3 separate regions of the Homo sapiens genome follow, and regions 1 and 2 are each linked to region 3. Evidence: promoter capture Hi-C in 16 types of primary human blood cells and fetal thymus (Javierre and others, 2016). All regions are on one chromosome and are shown on one strand. Each heading gives the region's core, a stretch centred on a gene start or on the middle of the fragment in contact. The rest is flanking DNA. Distances are from core to core; before and after follow the strand shown.

Evidence for each region. Contacts are between HindIII fragments. The CHiCAGO score rates a contact against its expected background, and 5 or more counts as called.
Region 1: a fragment that was not itself captured here is called in contact with the fragment with the promoter of SLC35A2 in region 3 in 1 of 17 cell types (neutrophils); the score reaches 5.5 in neutrophils.
Region 2: the fragment with the promoter of RBM3 here is called in contact with the fragment with the promoter of SLC35A2 in region 3 in 1 of 17 cell types (neutrophils); the score reaches 6.9 in neutrophils.

Annotation. Positions count from the first base shown.
Region 1 is chrX:49,273,013-49,276,610 of GRCh38, forward strand. The region is part of intron 1 of PPP1R3F (protein phosphatase 1 regulatory subunit 3F); the gene reads left to right. Among named protein-coding and RNA genes, the nearest start is that of PPP1R3F, 5.0 kb to the left of the region's middle. The HindIII fragment of the contact is 1,188 bases long and covers 1,614-2,801 here.
Region 2 is chrX:48,572,869-48,576,450 of GRCh38, forward strand. It overlaps RBM3 (RNA binding motif protein 3), which reads left to right and starts at 1,616. Exons shown (of 7, transcript NM_006743.5): 1 at 1,616-1,705; 2 at 2,300-2,415; 3 at 2,693-2,799; 4 at 3,446-3,551. The coding sequence starts at 2,313. RefSeq lists a cis regulatory region at 749-1,734 and enhancers at 1,491-2,690, 1,674-1,943. The HindIII fragment of the contact is 13,325 bases long and covers 1-3,582 here.
Region 3 is chrX:48,910,396-48,914,559 of GRCh38, forward strand. SLC35A2 (solute carrier family 35 member A2) reads right to left here and starts at 1,251. Exons shown (of 5, transcript NM_005660.3): 1 at 1,151-1,251. The coding sequence starts at 1,241. It overlaps PIM2 (Pim-2 proto-oncogene, serine/threonine kinase), which reads right to left. Exons shown (of 6, transcript NM_006875.4): 5 at 4,000-4,164; 6 at 2,787-3,899. The coding sequence ends at 3,736. RefSeq lists a silencer at 445-494 and enhancers at 855-904, 2,145-2,194, 3,885-3,934. The HindIII fragment of the contact is 18,859 bases long and covers 1-4,164 here.

The sequences.
Region 1 (3,598 bases), core at 958-3,457, 360 kb after region 3:
ATGTCGTGCTTTCCTTTTACCTTTTTTTTTTTTTTTGCTTTATCGAGGTATACCTACATAAAGTGTACTGATATTCTGTGTATAGCCCAGTGGATTTGTACATATGTATGCACTTGTGTAGCCACCACCCAGATGAAGATACTGAGCAGGTCCAGTACCCCAGAGCTACCTTCATTTCTATCACTTTCCCAAGCTGTCATCCCCGCCGGCTGTCATGGGAACCCTGTCTGTAAGATGCGACAGTTTGGGTAAAGGAGTTTGGTCATTTTAAAGAGTGTGAAAGGCAGAGAACAGAGAAATCAAAACCTTGCAGGGCCAAGGTGGGTGGAGAGGGTGTTTTTCTTTTAACATACATGGGCGGTTTTAAGGAGAAATTGAAGCAGCCTGTTCAGACAATTGTTTTGGTATCTGGCCCCAGGTCTGTGGTTCCTAACATGACTTGTGATATTATTTTAAGTGGGCAGATGGCTTTTTGATAGCTTCTTTATCTTTCGATCTCAGCTCTTGCAAAGGGGAGGTTGGTGCTCATTGCAAGATCAGCGATAAGGGTTTCTTTGTAGGTCGGTGGCTTTCTTGGTGAGTACATTTCAACATATTATTGTTTTAGAACCTGTGTGCTGCCAGTGACTTGCAGCACTGTTGAAGACTAGCCACCCTTTGTGACCTAGCCCTCTTGGGAAATGGCGGAGGATCTCAGGGTATATCCCTTACCTGTGGGAGCCCTATCAGAGGGCTTCCTGTTGAGGAAATGTTGGCTGTAGGCCCTCTGTGCACTGAGCACAGCCACATCAGGTGAGGGCATGGGAGAAGTCCGTGGTAGCCATCAGGATAGAGTTCAGAAACCCAAATGGCTGCTTTCCCTGGGTTGCTGGACCAGGCATTTGGTAACTCTAAAGCTTAGAGATGATTCATCGACAAGCATTTATTGACTGCCTACTGTGTGCTGGGCACAGTGCTAGGTTCCAGCAGGGAAAGAGATGCAGAGTGGTCCTAAGATGTCACAGGGCTTGTGGGATGGAGTACAGAGGATTTGTTGTATGAGACCTGGCTGAGCCCCTGCTCTTCGCCAGGCACTTCACTGAGTACTATATTTTCATGCAAGGTCTGGTTTAATTCCGACAACATTCCCTGTGAAGTAGAGGGTTTTAAATTTCTCTTTCCTGGATGAGCAAACTGAGGCTCCCAGAGTCCAAAGTCCTAGGGCTGGTGTGGGGAAAAGCCCTCCTGATCTTCCTTGGCACTTGACACTACCCTTTGGAAGTGTCCTATTCTTCTTAAAAGTAAAGACCAAGAGAGCCTCACCATGGTCTTCAAGCACCCTCCCATCCCATTCCCCAATCTGGCCTCCACTGGCTCATAGTCTTAACACCAGTGGTCTTTCTGAGCTCCTGTCACCATGGTCTTTCTGTTACTCCAAAGGGCCTCGCTCCTTTCTGCTGCAGGGCCTTTGCCCCTGCTGTTTCCTTCACCAGGAACATTTATCCCGTACCCCTTGCAGTCTCCTCCAGTGTTGATCCCTCAGTTCTAAGAGGACTTCCCCAGGGGAGCCTGTCCACCCCAGTGTCCTCGGGCCCCTGGCTTTTTCATAGCACTCATCAGCCCAGCACGTGCTAAGCTTTGTTAGAGAATGTCCCATGGCAGAGCAGATGAACATCGCCACCAGTCGAGGGGTCATCGGCCACCCTGCCTAGCAGTTCTACTATATTTTTTTGATCCACTCGTTTCTCCTCTGAAGTGACTCTTTCAAATGTTCTTTACCTTCAGACTTTCTCTCCTGCTTCAAAAAACAAAACAGAAGCCATAAGAATGGAACTCCCTATAACTTGTGGCCCCCAAGTCTGCACGCTGATTTCCCTCCCCTGTGTTACAGATGACGAGGAGTCCCTTCTTGCTCAGGCCACTTCTCCCTCCTGTGCTCTGGGTCCCAGTTTCTGCTACTTGCTCTAGAATCTGACATCATCAGTCACCTTTTCTCTCCTGGCAGGTTTTCTGCTGCCCTCCTTGCTTGATCCTCTATTCACCTTTGCCTGTGCCAGCATCCCTTCTGTCTCCGCTGACCCCACGTTCTCTCCCTCCTGCTTCTGGCCAGCACCTCATCACCCTCCCCTTCACTGCTGACCCCTGCAGAGTTGCCTGTACTTGCCTTCTGCACTTGCTCACCCCCGTAAGTGTTAGCCCCCGGCATCTGCCAGATTCTGCAGGTGGTTTTTTAGTTTTCCTCTTGAAGTGGTTGACCACTCCTACTTAAAACACTTTGTCTTCCCTTGCCTTGAGACCACACTCTGCTGGTTTTCCTCTTAACTCTCTGGCCCTTCTCTTTCTCCTGGCTCTTCCCTTAGCTTCATGTATCCAAACTCGGCATCTCCACTTGACTGATGGCCCAAATAATTCCTCAAACTCACCTTGTCGGGGACTGCATTCATCACCTCTCCCACAGTGTTCCCAAGCAGCCTCTCACTCCCCTACCTCCCCACTTGCTCGTTTTGCTTTTCAGCATCCTTAAGTAAGCCCTGCCTGACCCTGTAGATTGGGCCAGGGACCCTTATTCTAGGGCATTCTTTCCTTTTCTAAAGGCACTGATCGCAGTTTGTAGTTATATCTTTATTAGGGGGTTGCTGGATGACTCTCTGCCCCGCTAGACTGTAAGCTCCGTGAGGGGTAGGGACATGGTCTGCTTTCATTCACCACTGTATTCCTGCAGGCCTGCCACAGTGCCTGGCACTTAGCAGGTGCTCAATAAATGTTTGTTGAAATAATGAGTTTGAGTATTTTTTTAATGTCTTCCTCCATACTGAATTGTAAGCTTCCTAGTTGGGTTTGCTCACCATGGTGTCTCCAGGATCCGTCACTGGGGCTGATGCACAGGAAGGCCCACTGTCTTTCAGTGCACCTATAACTGAAGGGATGGGGATCCAACCTGCTATCTGAGTTGGCAGCCTCAGGGGAAACCAGAATAACTGGAGTTGAACGGGACAAGTCAGGGGCATCTTAGTTTTCTGTAGAGTGAGGAATTAATGTGAACGTGATCCTCTTTTATGCCACAGAAAACTTGGTAGGGCATTATGGTTAAGGACATGGGCCTGAGGCCACGTGCTAAGAAAGTGGCAGAGCTGGGATCTGAGCCTGTGTGGTCCTGCTCTAGTGCTCCAGCTCTTAGCTACTGTACCAGGCTGGGTGATGCATTTTACCAGCAGGGCAACACTGGGCAAGTTGCTTTCCTTTCAGAGCTTCAGTTTCCCTCAATGGAAATTTGGAGGGGGTTACTGTTAAGTGCTTTATAGGTACTTTTCAAATATTTCTTTGATCTGCTGAACAACTCACTGATGTAGGTATTATTATCCCCTCCTTAGAGATGAGGTAACTGAGGCACAGAGAGGTTAAGTAACTTGCCCCAGGTCACACAGCTGATAGGTGGCAGAGCTGGAATTGTTCAAAATTGCATATCCTAACCCTTTATTGAGTTGTGAAATCAATTTACTGGGTTTCAACAAGCATTAAAAAGAAAAAGGAAATAGCATAAGAAATGCCAGTGTATCACCACATGCAGTAAAGGTAAGTATTGTTTCACTCGAAGAACAACCATTTTTCAGTTATTTAT
Region 2 (3,582 bases), core at 366-2,865, 340 kb before region 3:
ATGGATAAGAAATTTAGCCTCTGAGGGCAAACTAACTTATTCTTCGTTGATGTGGCGCTCAGAAGTGAAAAATCTGTCAAATCCATTTATTGTAAAGGTGGCCAAGACACTGAAGACTAAATTGTGAACAGTGGGCTCAGACACTACTTGATTGGGATAAGTCTATTGTGTATTGCGAAAGTCCCTTCTGTGAATCAAGGGCTCAGTTACTTTTTTTTTTTTTTTGAGACTGAGTCTTGCTCTGTCGCCCAAGCTGGAGTGCAGTGGCATGATCTCAGCTCACTGCAACCTCCACCTCCCGGGTTCAAGCGATTATCCCGCCTCAGCCTCCTGAGTAGCTGGGACTACAGGTGCCTACCACCACGCCCGGCTAATTTTTTTTTTTTTTTGTATTGTTAGTAGAGACAGGGTTTCACCATATTGGCCAGGGTAGTCTTGAACTCCTGACCTTGTGATCTGCCCACTTCGGCCTCCCAAAGTGCTGGGATTACAGGCATGAGCCACTGCGCCCGGCAAGGGCTCAGTTACTTTCGAAGAGAGCAAAAATTGCTCTATGGATTGGGATTTACAACCTCTGAAGATCGTAGCATCCTCTTTTGTTTTGTTTTGTTTTCACCCAGGCTGGAGTGCAATGGCGTGGTCTCGGCTCACTGCAACCTCCGCCTCCCGGGTTCAAGCGATTTTCCAGCCTCAGCCTCCCGAGTAGGTGGGACTACAGGCACGTGCCACCACACCCAGCTAATTTTTTTTTTCTTTTTTTTTTTTTTTTTTTTTTTTTGTATTTTTAGTAGAGATGGGGTTTCACCATGTTGGCCATGCAGGTCTCGAACTCCTGAACTCGTGAACCGCCCGCTTTGGCCTCCCAAAGTGCTGGGAATACAGGCGTGAGCCACCGCGCCCGGCCAGCATCCTGTTTTGTAAAAGCCATCTCAGGCAGTCTATTGGTGAGAAAATTAAGGGGCTGGCTTCACGCCAGCAGTCAGACAAGGGTGAGGGCTGAAGTCAGAGATGAGATGGAATGACGCCAGGGAAAAGGGTCCCATGACAGGCGGCTAGATGTTGAGCACAGAGGAGAAAGAGTAGGAGTCAGGGTCAAACCTTAAAACGTTGGGTCTGACATCATGGACTGTGAAGGGTGATGACATCAGTGACGGTGGGGGATAAAATGTCAGGCCTTTAAAGGGTATGAGGTTAAAGAACTAGAAGGTGAAGGAGGTTAACATCAGAGAATGGCAGGGACCTAGAGGAAGACGACTACGATGGTGAGGAAGACATCCGATCCAGCGGGGGAAATGATGGCAAGGACGGGAGGATGATGTCAGGGACAGCAAGTAGTATGAGATTGAGAAGGTTCCTTTGTGGAAGGGATAAAGGCAGCTCAGCCGGTTGTGGGGGGGATGCTGACGTTTAGGGTGCACCAGCTGTTCAAAAGTCGACCCCATTTCCGGAAACACCCCATTTCCGGAAACACCCCATTTCGCGGAGAACACTGCTCCCTTCGCTTTGCTGTCCCTTCCTCTCCCCACCACTCCGCTCCTGCTGGCCTCAGCCAATCAGCACGCACGCCGGGACGCGCAAGGGGAACGTTCCGGGACGTTCTCGCTACGTACTCTTTATCAATCGTCTTCCGGCGCAGCCCCGTCCCTGTTTTTTGTGCTCCTCCGAGCTCGCTGTTCGTCCGGGTTTTTTACGTTTTAATTTCCAGGTAAGTTGCATATGTCCTGCGAAACGGCGGCTCCTCGCCACACACGCGCCGCGCCGGCCGTGACCGGGGAATAGCGAGTGGGGAGAGTAATGGCCACTGACACGTAGGCTTGGCTTTCTCTGGGACGGGCGGGTCCCGTGCTTGGAGGTGAAACATTTCGGTTGGTGGGAGGCCGGCGCGCTGTATCTGAGTGTGAGGCCTACCGGGAGGGACTGGTGGCGTCGGTGGTGGCAGTGACCACGCGACAGCCGACACTTACTTTCCTTATCCCACGTGGCCGCCGCCATCTTGTTCTGCCGGCGTTAAGGGAACGCAGGGATGTTCTGGGCTTGCGCAGTGGCACAAAATGACGGGCGTGGCGGCTATGAATGTGAGAGCATGCGCAATGTGGCCCCCTAATGGTGGCTGCGCTGAGCCAGCTCCTCAGATTACCACCTTATTGGCCGCCTTTCTCAGCTTTTCTGTAGTTACCCATATTTTGTTCCTCTTTCTTGTCTATTTTCTGTGCTTTTTCTCTGCTTTCCGTCTCGCTATTTTCTCACATCTCCATTTTCTTTCTCCTTCCTGCCACCATTCTTCATGTTCTTCCCACAGGACTTGAACTGCCATGTCCTCTGAAGAAGGAAAGCTCTTCGTGGGAGGGCTCAACTTTAACACCGACGAGCAGGCACTGGAAGACCACTTCAGCAGTTTCGGACCTATCTCTGAGGGTGAGACGGGCCATACTCACAATGGGGGTTGGTGAGAGAAAGTCTGGGATCCTTGCATTTCAAGGAGTATTAACTGAAAAGTTAGGACCCACGCCTCCAAATTCTTTTTCTTCCTAAGCCTATGGTGTAGACTAAGGATGAGGGGAAGCGTCTTTGGGATTAGTGGGAGCGCTCCGTTTTCCCTACCTATGCCATCTCCTTTTCCGGCCACCCTTTGCTACTTAACCTTTGGGGTACTGACTGGTCCACATTGCTCCATCTTCTCTCCCTCTCACAGTGGTCGTTGTCAAGGACCGGGAGACTCAGCGGTCCAGGGGTTTTGGTTTCATCACCTTCACCAACCCAGAGCATGCTTCAGTTGCCATGAGAGCCATGAACGGAGAGGTGGGGCCTCCTATCTGCAGAGGGACCTTGTCCCCATCTGCGGCTTCCTTCATTCTTTTTGTTTTTCCCTCTGTGTCTGCTCGGGGCAGCGTGGCCACCAAGCCCCGCAGTGCCCACTCACAGGAGCATGACTGCCTTTTGTTCTAGGGGGTGGAGGGCAGCGGCAGACAGAGCCTGGCCGCCTGGGAGGCGACGACTGGTCCTGCATGAGGCCGAGAAGCCACCTGTGGATGGTTGACCTGCCTTGGGCTTAGGTAGTAGAGTCTGCAGACCTGTGGGCCTGGCCCGGAGAGGACCTCGTGAGTCTTCTGACATGGACTCTGAAGCCTCAAACCAAGAGAGGTGTCTGTCTAGCCCTGATAGTCGGGCAGCTTAGAGGAGTGGGGAGGAGAACTCAGCCTGAGTTCAGTCAAGATGTAAGTAGTAGCAAGGGGAACATGGTGCATTCAGGTCATTTTGTGTGGGATTCTATAGCTCCTGATGAAGCCATTCTGGGGTAAAGGAGCTTATTCTGGAACATGGCACCCAGAACCTGGTGCCCAGCAGGAATTTTTGGCCTCTTTTGCCCACTTACCCTTGCCTGCTCTTCCCTCACCATTGCCCTGACTGACTGCCAACCCATCATCCTTGTGTCTCCCACACTTAGTCTCTGGATGGTCGTCAGATCCGTGTGGATCATGCAGGCAAGTCTGCTCGGGGAACCAGAGGAGGTGGCTTTGGGGCCCATGGGCGTGGTCGCAGCTACTCTAGAGGTGAGTGCAGTGATCGTTTTGATCATGGGGT
Region 3 (4,164 bases), core at 1-2,500:
GATTTCTATGGATTACCTCAATAGACTCATATCACTGTCATCTCCAAAAGAACTGCGAGGATTCCCATTTATGGATTAGCAAACTGAGAATTTATATGAAATGATGCTCCTGTTTAATGAGGGACTGTCTCATGTAAAGAATAACACATCAATGCAGGGAATGAGGCCACTGTATGAGGTATGTTCACCCCCTAAGAACGGTCTTTCTCCTATCTAAGAAATGATTCGATTCCCTCACACTGAGAATGGCCTACATCCCATATGGAATGATCCTCCTCATACCCAGAATGGTCTCTCCAACCCCTCACTCCTGTGACAACTGGTTCCTCTCGAACCAGAATAGTCTACTAAATACAAGAAATGATTCCCACATGCTCCCAGGGACTGAATCCTGTATCAGGAATGGTTATCCCACCAAGAAAGGTCTGGCTCCCTCAACCAGATGAGGAAATACTTCCCTGCACTCCACATGGTCTGCCCTCCCACCACCGCACACGGACCCTCTAGCTAATGAATTTTTCCTTGCTCTACCCACACTCACAATGAGCTCTCTCTGCTATAAGGAAGGACCCGGCACTCTCAGAACGTTCTTTCTCCACCATATAACGATGAGCCCTCCCACCCGAATGTACAATGAACTCTACCTCCATTAGGAGGGAGCCCCCAGAACGGTCTCCTCCGCACATAATGAAAGACACCCCCATCCTCAAAATGGACCCTCTCTAGTCACATAAAGAAGGACTCGCCCCACCCTAACTCACAATAGTCTCTGTCCCTTTATAAGGAAGGAACCACCACCCTCAGAATAGTCTCCCCCTTCTTCAGTGAGGAACTCCCACACCCGCAGAATGGTCTCTTCCACACGGAAGGACTCCACATATTCAGAATGGTTTCGGTGGCCTTAGCCTTCCCAAAAAGAATTACCCACCACACTCACAATGGTCTCTACTCTCCATATGCGGAAGGATCCCACAATCACTCTCAGAATGTTCTCTTCCCCGCCCCCAACACACTGACAATGTGCACACACACACACACACACACGTCGGTCCACACGGGATGCTCCCTCTCACTTTAGTGAGGAACATTCCCGACTCCCAGCGATCCCGACCTCCGCCTCCCATGCGACTGCTCGGGCAGACTGTCTCACCCGCACTGGCGGTCCCCGGCTCCAATGCACCCGCGGAAACCGCCCCTGGCCCGGGCGCCGCGGTGGAACCACCAGCCCCAACCGCTGCCATGTTGGCATCTGCCCGGCCCGTCCCCTCGGCAACAGAAAAACCACTTCCGCGTTCGTCACTTCCGCTGCCGGGCCACCTGAGTGAAGGTGGAGCGAGAGCCGGGATCGTCAGGGTGGTGGCTTTTCTCCTCCGCTCCTAAAAGCTCAATGTATGAATAGCCCCGGGATTTCCAAATTCCGTCGGATCGGGAGGCCGGGGACACGGCCCGATCGGCCTACCCACCATCCCTACAGAGCTTCATCGGCCCATTCCTGTCACTAGACCCGCCTTATCCTGCCGTTCGTCCGCTTCACTGATCGCGCTTTCCAGATCATCCCCCGATCTTGTCTCCTAGACTCATTGGTTCAGCCACCCCTTTCATCTCGGCTCTTTATTGGCAGCTTCTCCATAAGGCGCCGCCCTTTCCGTATCAGAAACTACCAGGTGCTTCATGGTTGGACTGAAATTCCGCTTTCCCGTCTTCCAGAGAGGCCTCGCCCCCTGGAGAGCACACGGGAATCTGGGGACGAAGAAACTTTGACCTGGCGGGGTCGGGGTGAGGGCGTACTGGCATCAGGTGCGAGTCAGGAATGTTAAGCTAGCAGATAAAAGCAGAGCAGGTGAGGATAAACAAGTGAAAATGCAAAGGAAAGTTGACGCACATAAGGGAAGACAAGTGAGTCACCACTGAGGATGGCAAAGGGGACAGGCGAAAGGCTCACAGGTTAGCTAGCATTTGGAAGCAGGGCAAGAGTCCGGGCCAGAGGCGGTGGCTCACGCCTGTAATCCCAGCACTTTGGGAGGCTGAGCCGGGCGATCACCTGAGCTCAGGAGTTCCAGCCTGGGCAAAACGACAAAACCCCGTCTCAAATAAAAAAAAAAAATTACCCGGGCTTAGTGGTATGCACCTGTACCCAGCTACTCTGGAGGCTGAGGCAGGAGAACCGCTGGAACCCGGAAGGCGGAGTTTATACTGAACCGAGACAAATAAGCAGGGCAAGAGAGGGAACAACTCAGGTCGGAACAAGTGAAACCAACATGGAATAGGGTAGGCCAGGTAAGTCAAGTGTTGAAGGAGAAATTAGAGGGATGGGTATGTAAGGGTAAAGATGGGGGAAGAGGCTAAAGATAAAGAGCAAAACAGGTGACTACACCCTGGACAGATTCCAGTCAGCGCCCAACCCCAGCCCCGCCCTGGCCAGTACCCTGACAGGGCTTTTCTTCTGCAACAGGGGAAAGGGCTTCTTCATTCCCCTGGGGTGCCAGGGAAGGTAGTTTTTCTGCTTCTGAGATAGCCATCTTGATTGGGGATGTGCCCTAAACACCTTCAATATGCACAGTATCTCCAACAGAGAACCCTTCTGCACATACTGGGCACTGCATAAGATCAGGGGCAGGGGAATCAAGATTTTTTTGTGTGTGTGTGGTGCAGCTTCAAGAATCCTTAAAGCTCTTTAGGATGGCAACATAAGACTGTGGCTTCCTGAGGACAAAGCAGAGGGACAGTCTGTCTCAGTGCACAGTAGATGCTCCATAAAAGCCTCACACCTACAAATGGCCAGCCGCTTCTGATTCTATTACTTTTATTAAATAGTGGGTTTCCACACATGGCTTTTTAAATAATCCAGGCAGGAGAAGAGAGGAGGGCACACTTGGAACTCCCCTCCCCACAATACGTGATTATTTACATTTTAGTAATTGGACAATCCCGGCTCAGGAGGAGGTTGCAAGAATCTGCAAAAGTTGGAGGGAGCGCCCCAGGAGAACAAACAGCAAGCCTTATTTCCCCTAGCCCATCCCCCAAAAAACCATCCATCCCATCCTAGTGTCTGGTGGTGTCCGGTGGTGTCCATCTTCCATTCCTTCCCAAATTATGGAAGTAAGGTTCTTCTCACCAGAATAAGAGCACTTGGGATAACAGAGTAGGGTCCCCTCACCCAAAAAAAAAAAAAAAAAAAAGAAGCCTTGGGGTAACAACAGGGCATTACCTCCCCCAGAATAAAGAATCCTGGGCTGAGGCAGGTAAGCAGCTTGACCCAATATGGGACCCTAGGCTAGGGGAAAGGGTCCCTTTACTAAAATAAAAGCTACTGGGGTATTGGAAGGAAAGCACCCTTGCCCAAGTAAGAGCATATGAACTAAGTTTGTGTGGTGGTAGTAGGAGGTGCCAATGTGGGGTGACACATCATCAGAATAAGAGTCCCGGGGCTCAGAATGGGAACAACTTCACCAAAATAAACTTCCTTAGCAAAATGAGAAGCAAGAAGTTCCCCCTCCAGAATCAGGGACCACAGGTTCTGGGAGGAAGGCTCCTTTGTAGGATTGGGAAGGGAACTGGGCAGACTTGGTTTATGTCTTCTAACCCCTGATCCTCAATCCCTTACCTTAGTAATACTGGACTTTAATGACTGGTAATGACCTGTAAAACCAAGTCAACAAATGTCCATCTATCCCTGTGACATGGCCATGGGATGGCTCTTCTGACCATTGGGGGCCAGGCCAGGCCAGGCCAGGCTTAGGGTAGCAAGGACCAGGCCAAAGGGGCAGGGCCTCCTTTGGAGGGGTTGAGGGGTACATCCTCGGCTGGTGTTTGCATCCAGGGGTCCAGCAGGATCTCTTCCAGTGAGGGTCGGGAAGAAGGTTTGGGGGCCAGGCACCGGCGGATTAGGGCACAGCAGTCTGTAGGCCAAGAAGCAGAGAGGGAAGATTAGCAGTCAGTAGGGGGTACTGGTCCCTGAGAAGGATGGAGTCTTCTGGGCTGGGGTCAGTGAGGCCTCACCTGGGGAGACATGGGCTGGGAAGTGGAGCTCAGCTTCCAGAATCTCCTGGTCCCTCTCAAAGGGAATGTCCCCACACACCATGTCATAGAGGAGGATGCCCAGTGACCAGACAGTGGCCGGGAGTGCATGGTACTGGTGTCGAGAGATCCACTCTGGGGGGCTGT